Regions from separate parts of the Homo sapiens genome. Here all the other regions are linked to region 3. Evidence: promoter capture Hi-C in human tissues and cell types (Jung and others, 2019). All regions are on one chromosome and are shown on one strand. Each heading gives the region's core, a stretch centred on a gene start or on the middle of the fragment in contact. The rest is flanking DNA. Distances are from core to core; before and after follow the strand shown. Region 1 overlaps TLL1 (tolloid like 1). Region 2 has its middle 64 kb from the start of TLL1. Region 3 holds the start of TLL1 (tolloid like 1).

What was found. The method cuts DNA at HindIII sites, captures the fragments that hold promoters and counts their contacts. A contact is called where the count stands out against the background at its distance.
Region 1: a contact is called between a fragment that was not itself captured here and the fragment with the promoter of TLL1 in region 3, in 1 of the 25 tissues and cell types used here (dorsolateral prefrontal cortex).
Region 2: a fragment that was not itself captured here is called in contact with the fragment with the promoter of TLL1 in region 3 in 2 of the 25 tissues and cell types used here (heart left ventricle and hippocampus).

Annotation. Positions count from the first base shown.
Region 1 is chr4:165,930,630-165,934,319 of GRCh38, forward strand. All of the region lies in intron 1 of TLL1 (tolloid like 1), which reads left to right. Among named protein-coding and RNA genes, the nearest start is that of TLL1, 59 kb to the left of the region's middle. The HindIII fragment of the contact is 5,422 bases long and covers 1-3,690 here.
Region 2 is chr4:165,806,949-165,810,679 of GRCh38, forward strand. No RefSeq gene overlaps it. Among named protein-coding and RNA genes, the nearest start is that of TLL1, 64 kb to the right of the region's middle. The HindIII fragment of the contact is 4,870 bases long and covers 1-3,731 here.
Region 3 is chr4:165,871,392-165,875,079 of GRCh38, forward strand. It overlaps TLL1 (tolloid like 1), which reads left to right and starts at 1,846. Exons shown (of 21, transcript NM_012464.5): 1 at 1,846-2,682. The coding sequence starts at 2,514. The HindIII fragment of the contact is 12,105 bases long and covers 693-3,688 here.

The DNA.
Region 1 (3,690 bases), core at 786-3,285, 59 kb after region 3:
CTCCTGCATTAACTAAACACCTTTTAAAACAAAAATGAATTTCTGCAATTGAGATCAGTTCTCTCAGGGTCATTATTCACCTAGACAAATGAAATTCTTCTTTTGAAAAAGTGATAACAAATACGTTTTTCTCATCATATTTGCTTTATAATACTTGAGAAATTCTTTTAAAATGCAATTGTTTAAATAATGTCAAAAGAAACACTTCTTGTAATTTATAAGCACTCCAGAAAAAAACATATGCATATATGTAGTATAGTGACTGTAAAGTGATCTTGAATAGTATGTTATTGGTTGTGTTAGGGAAATGAATAAATAACAATAACAATAGCAAATGCTTCTAAAGTGCTCCTTGGGTGTCAAGCACTGTTCTAAGTAATTTTACATTTCTTTTTTCAGCAACCATTTAAAGTAGGATAATTGTTACCTCTCTTTCATAGATTATGTGTTTTGTTGTTGTAAATAAAGTTGAAGAATAGGTAAGAAAAACAACTTATAAAATATCATTTGTAATTTATTTCATAGGTTTATGGACACAACAATAATTATATTTATTGAGATCATAAAGCCAAGGCATTCGACTATATTCCATAATTAAAGCATTAAAAATGATAGAGAATAGTTTTAATAGCATAGGAGAGTTATCTTGAATAGGAATTTGATAGTTTTCAGTTCTGAGCTTAATTTAATTTTCTCAAGCTTCTTCTATGCCTAATTTAACTTTATACAGTTAGGTTTCTTTTGGGTTTACTTTTCTCATCCTTTAAAGTTAAAAACATTCAGCTGTGATTAGAAATTGCAGTGATTGGCCAGGCGTGGTCATTCACACCTGTAATCCCAGCACTTTGGGAGGCCAAGGCGGGCGGATCACGAGGTCAGGAGATTGAGACCTCCTGGCCAACACGGTGAAACCCCGTCTCTACTAAAAATACAAAAAAAATTAGCCGGGTGTGGTGGTGGGCACCTGTAGTCCCAGCTACTTGGGAGGCTGAGGCAGGAGAGTGGCGTGAACCAGGGAGGTGGAGCTTGCAGTGAGCTGAGATTGCACCACTGCACTCCAGCCTGGGCGACAGAGTAAGACTCTGTCTCAAAAGAAAAAAAAAAGAAATTGCAATGATTAACTTCAGATACTGCACGGGGTAGTTCTCCATTGAGCAGCTCATTTCACGATACCACACTTGCACTAAGAGAAAGTGCCCTGAGGCAAAGACAAATTCTTAGCAGGTGGCTTGATAATTGATAAGCAGATGTATGGCATTTAGTAGTAAAGTAGAAGCTATGCTAAGTTGATTAGCAAGGAGGTCAGGCGAGTGACTCAGAATTTGGTTGTGAGTAGAAGCCCTAGTGGGGACTTTCCTTTGCTGGAAAGCCAGGTGATGGTTGGACAAGTAGGTGATAAGCAGATGTTTGCAGTTCCGTATGTCACACCACTTCTTCGCCTACTCTGGAATTTGTCTTGAGAAAGCACAAAGGATACAATAAAAAGAGGTGAGAAGCAAAGGTAAGAAACACCACCAGAGACATTCAAAATCAGAAGGTCTCCTAGTTAGGCAGTCCACACTTACGAGATTCACCCTATTCTGCTTTTATGAACCCAAGCACTGCTGTTTCAGCTATTTGACATGTATTATATGCTTTTAACTCTGAAAACGCTGTGTGACTTGTTCCACATAGCACCATCTCTTCCAGGTTGTTTCTTTATACTGAGCGTTTCTCAGTTGATTAAAAAATGTTGTGTGAACAGGAAGTATTTCTAATAGAAAGTATTCCTCATTCCTGATTAATACCATTTTTGCAAAGTTCTACCACTGTAACTGTTTACATCAAGGCAAAAGGCAGGCTAGTGAATAAGGATGACTTATAAATCCTTCAGACTGGGAATGCCTATCAGCATCTGCAGTAACTGTGCGTAACTGAGGATGGAGCTCAGTCATGGGGCTAGAAATGAAGACAGAATGGGAAGTTAGTACTGCTTTTAACTGGACGTTCTGATATTTAAGCTTCAGATTTTCTTCTTTTTTTTTTTAGAGTTTGTTTGTAATCTGTTGTTATTGAAGAGATTTGGAATTTCTTGTCAGAAAAGTGTTTAAAACATCACTTAAAGTCAGTTGCATTCCTTGTTTGCTTGACTCTGCAAAAAAGGCCTTCTATTTTATATGCATTGATTTGACCATTTAAACTTCCTCCGAGACAATAAACTTGCTGAACTGTGGAATAAATTGTGATATTGAATTGTTCAATGTATGGAAAAGAGCTGTTAAAGCTGCAGTGTAAATTCCAGTTGGATATAATACCACTCTCATCAACTATACATAAGACACTTATGTTACCGGGGTACATTTACAGCTTCCGATTAGAAAGTTAAAACATCTTTAAGTATATGAACTTTCTCAAAATATTCTTGCATGAGACATCACAATTTTATACTGTACTATATGTGCAAAACCAATACTCTAGCCTATCACATGTATTTTTCAAGCCTACTTTGTTTGCTGCTGGTGGTGTTGATTGCAGTAATGGGTACTTAAAGCATCAAGTTATCTCTGCCTCATTCTGCATAATTGTTCAGTGGATTCACTTCCCTGTCAGATCAATCTCCCCCCATACACTCCCTGAGATGTTATCTGGGTACATAGAGCCCAGTGTTGTCCTGTGACATCATGGTCTTGTGGGGAGAGGACGCCTCAGATCTGAGTGTTGTTCCCCAGGTTCTCTCTGGCCTCCCCTGGGAGGCAATGATTCCGGTGTTGTGCCCGTACAGTTCACTATGGAAATCAGGGATGATGGGTGTGTGTCTCAGCTGAGGCAGACTGCACAGACCGTCATCATCATGGCGCATCTCGAGGTCTGCAGTCCATTCCATCCTGGCAGCCTGTCCATCAGCTATTAATTTCAGAACCACTTTGACTCTGTTGCAGTGACCATCCTTGGAAATTTTATCCAGCCATATCAGGTACCTTCTGCCTCTTGCACAGGACTTAGAGAAGTATCCCAAATGTCATCTTTGCCCATGGGAATTGAGGAGGGCCTGGGAGTGCTAGCGTGGATGGCTTCTTACCTAGAATAGCAGCCCTGTCTTTTTATTCTGACAGGACCACACCACCTCAGAGCAGGTCCGCTCCACAGACACTTCCCTCCCAGATTTTCAAGCACTCTCCACTTCTGCTTTTCTTCCAGTATGTCCGAGCAGCTCCCCTCCACTGCAACCTTCACCATTTCAACACTTGATGTGGGAGCTGGGACACATTTGAATGAGTCCTCTGCTGCTCCTCTTATCCCTCAAATTGTTATGAACTCCTTTTAGTTCTCCTTTCTGTTTTACTGGAAATTCCTCTGTGTCTCATCCACCTTCCACTGGTGACGTTCATCCTCTCTTTCTTTTTTTTGAGATGGAGTTTTGCTCTTATTGCCCAGGCTGGAGTGCAATGTCACGATCTTGGCTCACTGCAACCTCTGCCTCCCAGGTTCAAGTGATTCTCCTGCCTCAGCCTCCCGAGTAGCTGGGATTACAGGTGCCTGCCACCACGCCCAGCTAATTTTTTGCTTTTTTTTTTTTTTTTTTTTTAGTAGGGACGGGGTTTCACCATGTTGGCCAGGTTGGTCTTGAACTCCTGACCTCAGGTGATCCACCCGCCTCAGCCTCCCAAAGTGCTGGGATTACGGGCATGAGCCACCATGCTTGGCCTCATT
Region 2 (3,731 bases), core at 1,144-3,643, 64 kb before region 3:
TTCTACAGCTTTATCCACTGAAATATTAGAAACAGCCTCAATGTTTTACAATATGGGATTGTGGCAGCCTTTTATGCTGATATAGTTTATTTTCTTGAAAATCATTTTTTGAGGCTATGTTGTTACATGTAAAATCTGAGAAAATATGTCTCCTGATAAACCTTTAGAGGAAGTTTATTTTCAAATACCTTATCTATTCTAGGAAAAAGGGGGTGGGACTCACCAGAAATAAATGTTTATATGTGCAAGGATGCAACTGTATGTAGCCATTTTAAAATGTCATCATGGAGGAATAGTTTCTCAGGTGTGATCCTTAGAGCCTGAGTGATTCTATGAAGACACACAGAGGTCACCTAGGAGGAGGGCAACAGAGCTGTGGACCTTCCATCTGCCTCTTTGTTTCAAAGAGGCATTCTCATGTTTCTGATTTTTACGTTTAATATTTATTTTTTGACATAGGTTTAGATGGTTAAAACACCATTGAGAAAAAAAACAATGAAAAATGTTCATTAAATGTCAGAAAAAATTTTGAAAGATTTTAAAAATACAGATGATTGAGTGTCCTATCTAGGTGCACCTGCCTGCTCGTATCTGCTTTTCATGGTCCTTGAGCTATTTGACAACTCTGGAAGTTGTAGAAAACTGATAATACAAATTATTTGGGTCCCTAGAAATGCAAATTAAGTGGGTCTTCACAGAATGCAATTGATTAGGACATTTTGCATCCACTTGAAAGTGCATTTTAACACTCCTTACTTGTGTATGCATGTATGTGTGGTTCTTTGAATTTTCCTTTGAACTGGCTATATCACCTCATTAGTTCCTCATTAATGATTGAGTAAAATAAATACATTGATGTACTTATTTTATGTACACATAAGGGTCATAATTTTGTCTTTAAAAAACATTTTCTAACATATGTTTGTATAATTTTCTAGTAAATTTTATTTTGAATACAGGTTTGCTTGGCTAAAACACATTTGAAAAAATAATGGAAACTATTTCATGACTTGCAACTTGCTTACAAAACAAGTTAAATGAAAAAGTAGGTCATAAAAGAGAATGTGCAGCATTAACTCATTTTTGCCTTACATTTTTTACAAATTTATCTCTCATCTCTGTCTCCTGAATGCTGCTTTGGGCTTTTCCAACAGTTCTGTGTTTTTGTAGCAAATCTCCTTAATTGACTTCATACTGAGTGTGCATAGAAGCTTTCCCCTTAAATTTTTGAAAACTCAACTCACACTAAGCTTAGAATTTAATAAAATGTTATTGAAGACCTTGAGGAAAACAGAGTGGAATTAAAATGCAAAGAAAAGGAGACAATTCTAAATGCTAAGTATTCTATATCATTCTTGTCCATCAAGATTGATGCTCCAGAGATGTCCATCATTCATCATTGGCCTTTTGTATTCCTAGCTGTGTCATGATGCAAAGTTGAAGAAGCTACCCTACTTCCAGTAATCTAAAATGAGAAAATGCTGCTGTGTTAGGCTGTTCTTGCACTGCTGTAAAGAAGTACCTGAGATTGGGTGATATGGTTTTACTGTGTCCCCACCCAAATTTCAACTTGAATTGTATCGCCCAGAATTCCCACTTGTTGTGGGAGGGATCCAGGGGGAGGTAATTGATTCATGGGGGCTGGTCTTTCCCGTGCTATTCTTGTGGTAGTGAATAAGTCTCACGAGATCTGATGGATTTATCAGGGGTTTCCACTTTTGCTTCTTCCTCATTTTCTCCTGCTGCCACCATGTAAGCAGTGCCTTTCACCTCCTGCCAGGATTCTAAGGCCTCCCCAGCCATGTGGAACTGTAAGTCCAATTAAACCTCTTTTTCTTCCTAGTCTCCAGTATGTCTTTGTCAGCAGCATGAAAACGGGTTAATACACTGGGTAATTTATAGAGAAAGGAGGTTTAATTGGCTCACAGTTCTGCAGGCTGTATAAGTAGGAAGCACAGTGCTGGCACATTCTGGGCTTCTGGGGAGGCCTTAGGGAACTTACAATCATGGCAGAAGGCAAAATGGGAGCAGGCATGTCACATGGCAGGAGCGAGAGCAAGTGAGAAAGTGACACACACTTTTAAACAACCAGATCTCATGAGAACTCACTCACTATCATAATGACAGCGCCAAGCCATGAGAGATCTGCTGCCATGATCCAATCACCTCCCACCAGGCCCCACCTACGATATTTGTGATTACATTTTAATGTGAGATTTGGTAGGGACACAGATCAAAGCCATATCAGTTGCCTTCATAATAATCTCAACAAAAATCCAATTTTGTCCCTAAAGAACAAGTCACTTAACATTTCACTTAGAAGCATCTACATTTAGATTCCTTTATCGTTGCAATATTAGAAAGAGGCCAACCATACATCTTCCTGTCTAATCTGCTTGAGAACCAGGGGAGATAGAGCCTAAAACACCAAGCCCATCTTTCACCCTAAGAAGAAACAGTGTATGGACTCCCCAAATGGAATCCTTTATAATGTCTAATCTCCACATACCACATTTAGCAACAAGGTAGAAATTTTTGACAATATAAAAAATAGCAGCTTCTCAATGTTACATATATTTTCCCTGTTTTCTTCAAGACAATAATAATAGTAATAATAATGAATAATAAGAAAGGAACAGTAAGTACTATAATGATAATAATGATTGTAATGGCAACAAATAATTTAATAAAATAAAAGTGAAAAAGTTATCTAAATTAAAGGATTTGAGTGATGCTGTAAAGGTTTCCATTTTAACAAAACATGATATTTAGTGAAAATTAATTAGTTTTTATTATTTTTTACAGTAATTTTATTACCCATTAAAGTACAAAGCTTGGCCACCAAGCCATCTGATGGGCATCTCAACTGAATAAATTCACAAATAAAAATAAAATCCACATTCATTTATTACTATTTGGTTTTCTAGACAAATTATTTTCCAAACAGTTTTTGTCTTAGGCCTTGAAGAGAAAACACGGTGAGACTACCAGGGTGATGGTTGTCTCTCAGCTCATCAGATTAGATATGGCATAGATAATCTGTGTCCATTTAAATTTTGCTAACGTATTAGAGATTTCATTAAAATGCTTTGATGTGTTGAGATCTTAACATATTTTGAAGTCATAAAATCACACACACACATACATACACACACACTCTTTTTTAAGTGCTTTCCAGTGTCTATCTAATTTATTATTATTATTATCATTATTTATTGTGGCACAGTGGTCCCAAGGTTGTGTTTAATCCTTTCAGATCTACTTAAGTTCTCTAAGTGGCAGTAGACAATCATTGGTTTTCCTGATCACATCCATAACTCATCTTTCTCAATTCAAATAGACAATAATTTAATTATTTTATTCATTGTGTGAGTTTCCTTTATAATTTGCTTCATGTACAGGTTGGAAATATTTAGCATATCCTACTGAGAAGATACAGCCTTTGGGAAACCATTGGCAGAAATGAATAGTTGTCTTTGTTACTTAGAAGTATTGTCCTCTGGAAAAACTGAAGGGTCTAGAGCAGTGCTGAGAAATATCTTTTAGTTCTAAGTATCACTTTAAATTAATAGACAGTGAATAAAATTAAATCAGTAGCAGGCTTACAAAGTAAAGAATTTAGCCAGATTTTTTTTTAATCTTAAGAGAAAAAGTAATTTGAGTTTTTAAAGAGTTGTATGAGCAGTTTAAGTTTTGGTCCTTGTCTGGGGAAGGCAAACATAGTGTCAGAT
Region 3 (3,688 bases), core at 596-3,095:
TCATTATACATAATGAAGCTATTATCCCTATACAGTACTTTTTTTCCCAGAACAAATGAATAAAACATATTTATTCCTGCAAAGTAAGTGATGTTTAGGCAAACCACAGGTAAAACTTCTTGCAAATTTACACATGATAAAATAGTCTAAGGAGATGTTTGCAGGCATTTAGATTAACAAGGGACATTTTTAAGGTTTGGGATAGGGAATGGGAACACTGTCAGCAGCTCAAGAGCAGGAATCCTCTAGATGACATATGCATTCTCTAGGCTTTCAGATGGGCTAAGCAGGACATATTCTTGTTGAGCTCTGCACTAGGGCAACACTATTATTAATTATGCAAACTTTTTTTTTTTTGGATGGGTAAGAGAATTTGAGAATGACTCAGCAAGAGATTTCAAAATCAAACGCCTCTACCTGCTTATTGAACATGTTCTTTTTAAAAATCTACTTCTGCTCTGTATCCTGGGCATTAAAAGCTTAAGATCTATGGAAGGGAAGCTCCATCATTGCAGTGGCCTCTGAGAAAGACCCAGTTTTGCAAAGAACACTTGGTCAGTTCAGTTCCACCTAGCCTTCCTATACTTTTAGTTTAAGTTGAAAATACTTGGTACTTTTTCAAGATTGGCTTCTTACTTTTCTCTAACAAACATGAATAAAACCTAGTAAAATCTCCAAACCAAAGATGACTTTATCTGTCAAAGTTGTGTGTGTGTGTGTGTGTGTGTGTGTGTGTGTGTGTGTGTGTTTACCTTCATACATTCCTCTAGATGATAACTTGGATAGGGGGAACACTAGTCAAATAATATGTAAGGCTTTTTTTTTTTTTACAAGTCCTTGCTAAAGTGACAGTTTTAAAGATTTAGTTGGAAAAGGAAAGCTCCCAATCACCAGTCCCTTGGAAGCTTGTTGGGGGAGAAGTCATCTCACCTATTTTGGAAACTACTTGCAGATGTGGGGAAACCTCGGAATTGCTCACAACAGGGGTTTTACAGAGATTTCCTCTGATTTTTTTCCTCCCCAATTTCCCACAACCTGTGTTTGTCTTGAGTCTGCTCGGCTGACATGTGGTTTACCTCGCTGACCCTCCTGCCAGGTTTTACACCCTCTCCTCTGAAGAAGTAAAACATTACTGAAGCCGAAGGATACTGAGCAACTCTGCTCATGGGCGCCAGAACTGTCACAGAAAATTTGCTTCCCGAGTATTCCATCCAGCTTCCCTTCCTGCGCCCACGTGAGCCATAGCGCCAGCCCATCGGCAAGGTCTCAGCGTTTCCTGCTGCTGCAATCTGTAACTCGATTTTGGATTTTTTTTTTAATTGCAGTTCTGAGGATCTTAGTTCTTAGCAAAACTTTGTTGGTTAGGAGACCAACAGTAGTCTGTTTATTTTCTTACCAAAATCGTGAAGACTCGCACACTTTTCCTCCATTCCTGCGCTGCTCTAAGGTTAAACAGCAGCAAAGGAAAGAAATACACACTCGCTGTTTATTTGGGGGGAGGGGAAATATGGATTTGCAGCTAAGTTATCACGATCCTTCGCTCCACCCCCGGTCTGGCACTCTCAACTGACACGTACATCATCTATTAATTGCTGTTTGCGTACACAGATACATAATATATTCATTTTTATCTTTGGTAAAATATAAATGGAATTGTCAGCGCGCTCCTGTCTGTTTGTTTGTCTAAGGCTATCAAAAGAAGTCAAGAGAGGAGGCTGTGGTCCGGATCCTGACCCTGATTGTATGAATAAGTAAGCAGGATGCAAGTGATTGGGTTAGATGGTGCGAATATTTTTTTTTTTCAAGTTAGGAAGAGGGTAAAAAGACAGGCTGGCGGGGGGAAGGCAAACAGTGCATCCCCAAATCCTCACACTTTTGCTCTCTTGCAGTCAGTTGCTTTGCTGGCTTCTGCAGGCTTTTAAGGTCTCGCGGCGTAGAAATGCCTGGCCCCCACCCCCTTCCTCGGTCTCCCCTTTCAATTCAGATGTGCTGATGTGCAGACCGGATTCATCTTCTCGGAGCTGCGGCGGCGGCTTTGGGCTCAGGCGGCGGCGGCTCGCGCTCGGCCGCGGAGTCCTGGCAGCAGCGGGGACGCGGCGCGGGAGTCCGAGCTCTGGTGGCAGCTGAGCCCGCGGGGCGCCGCTCGCCGAGCCGCGGCCGCGGGAAGTTCGGCAGCCAGAAGGACGACCTGGCAGGCTGCGAGCGCCAGCGCCGCCAGAGCCGAGTTTGCCTGCGCCCTCCCCGCCTCCGAGTGCAGAGTTCCTTACCTGCCCTCCGCCCACCCGTGGGCCCCTAGCCAACTTCTCCCTGCGACTGGGGGTAACAGGCAGTGCTTGCCCTCTCTACTGTCCCGGCGGCATCCACATGTTTCCGGACACCTGAGCACCCCGGTCCCGCCGAGGAGCCTCCGGGTGGGGAGAAGAGCACCGGTGCCCCTAGCCCCGCACATCAGCGCGGACCGCGGCTGCCTAACCTCTGGGTCCCGTCCCCTCCTTTTCCTCCGGGGGAGGAGGATGGGGTTGGGAACGCTTTCCCCGAGGATGCTCGTGTGGCTGGTGGCCTCGGGGATTGTTTTCTACGGGGAGCTATGGGTCTGCGCTGGCCTCGATTATGATTACACTTTTGATGGGAACGAAGAGGATAAAACAGAGACTATAGATTACAAGGACCCGTGTAAAGCCGGTAAGTGGCTCTCCAGGTTGGGACGGTGGCGCGCCGGGGGCCGCTGCGCTGGGTTTCCCATGGGTGGCGGTGGGAGCTCACCTGTTTCCTTCCCTCCCGCGTCAGCCCCTCCGCCGCCCCTCCTTCTCTCCCCCTCCTTTTCCTTCCCTTCCCCACCCGCAAGTGGCAGCCGCTGCGGCCCCAGTTGACTAGAGTTCTGTGCCAGTGGGATCCACTGCCAAGCTCCCATCTCCCAGTTTGGGAATAAGGTCCTAGAGTTTCTGATCCCTCTCCCCTCCCCCAGCAAAACGAAACAAGTCGTAAATATAGCTTGCTGCTGTAGGTTTTAAATTCCAACACTCAGCGGGCTTTATGCATATGGAAGGGACACCGTCTTCTTTCCCCTCTCCCCCAGGGCGCGGTTTCCCAGCGCTTGTTCGAGAGCGAGTTGGCAGGGTTCCCCAAAAGATACAGGAGGATGGCATTGCTACCTGGAGACACCTTGGCTCCCTCTTTTACCAGGAATTTCAAGTGTGGGTTCCAGGCTAGAAAGGGATTGTGACAATCTCGGAAGAACTCACTTCTAGATGGGATTCTGATGCATTTGCCCATTTAAAATAAACTGAAAAGAAAAATGTTTTTAAGTTGCTACCCCATTCAAATTTGTGTCTTCCTTCCAGCTAACACCCCAGGGAAATGCAGTCGGACCGGCACTGCCTGAAGCTCAGCTTCTTGCCTCGCAGGGTCCCTGAATGTCCCAGGTCCTTCCCCTCCCTTCTACGCCTCTGGCGCCGCTGCCAGCCTCTCGCGCGCGCGGGGCGGCGCTTCCCTCTCGCCGCCTAAGGTCGGAGGCGCACGTGCCCGGGGCCGCTACCACGTGAGCGCAGCGCCTGAGGGCGCCCAGCACTGGCCGCGGCTCGTGTCCGGGCTTCGGGAGCTCCTGGTTCCTTGCTCTATTGGGCTGTGGCTGAGGTGATCCGCGCTCAGTGTGGACGCACAAGTAACTTCGTAAAGGTTGCATGGTGGT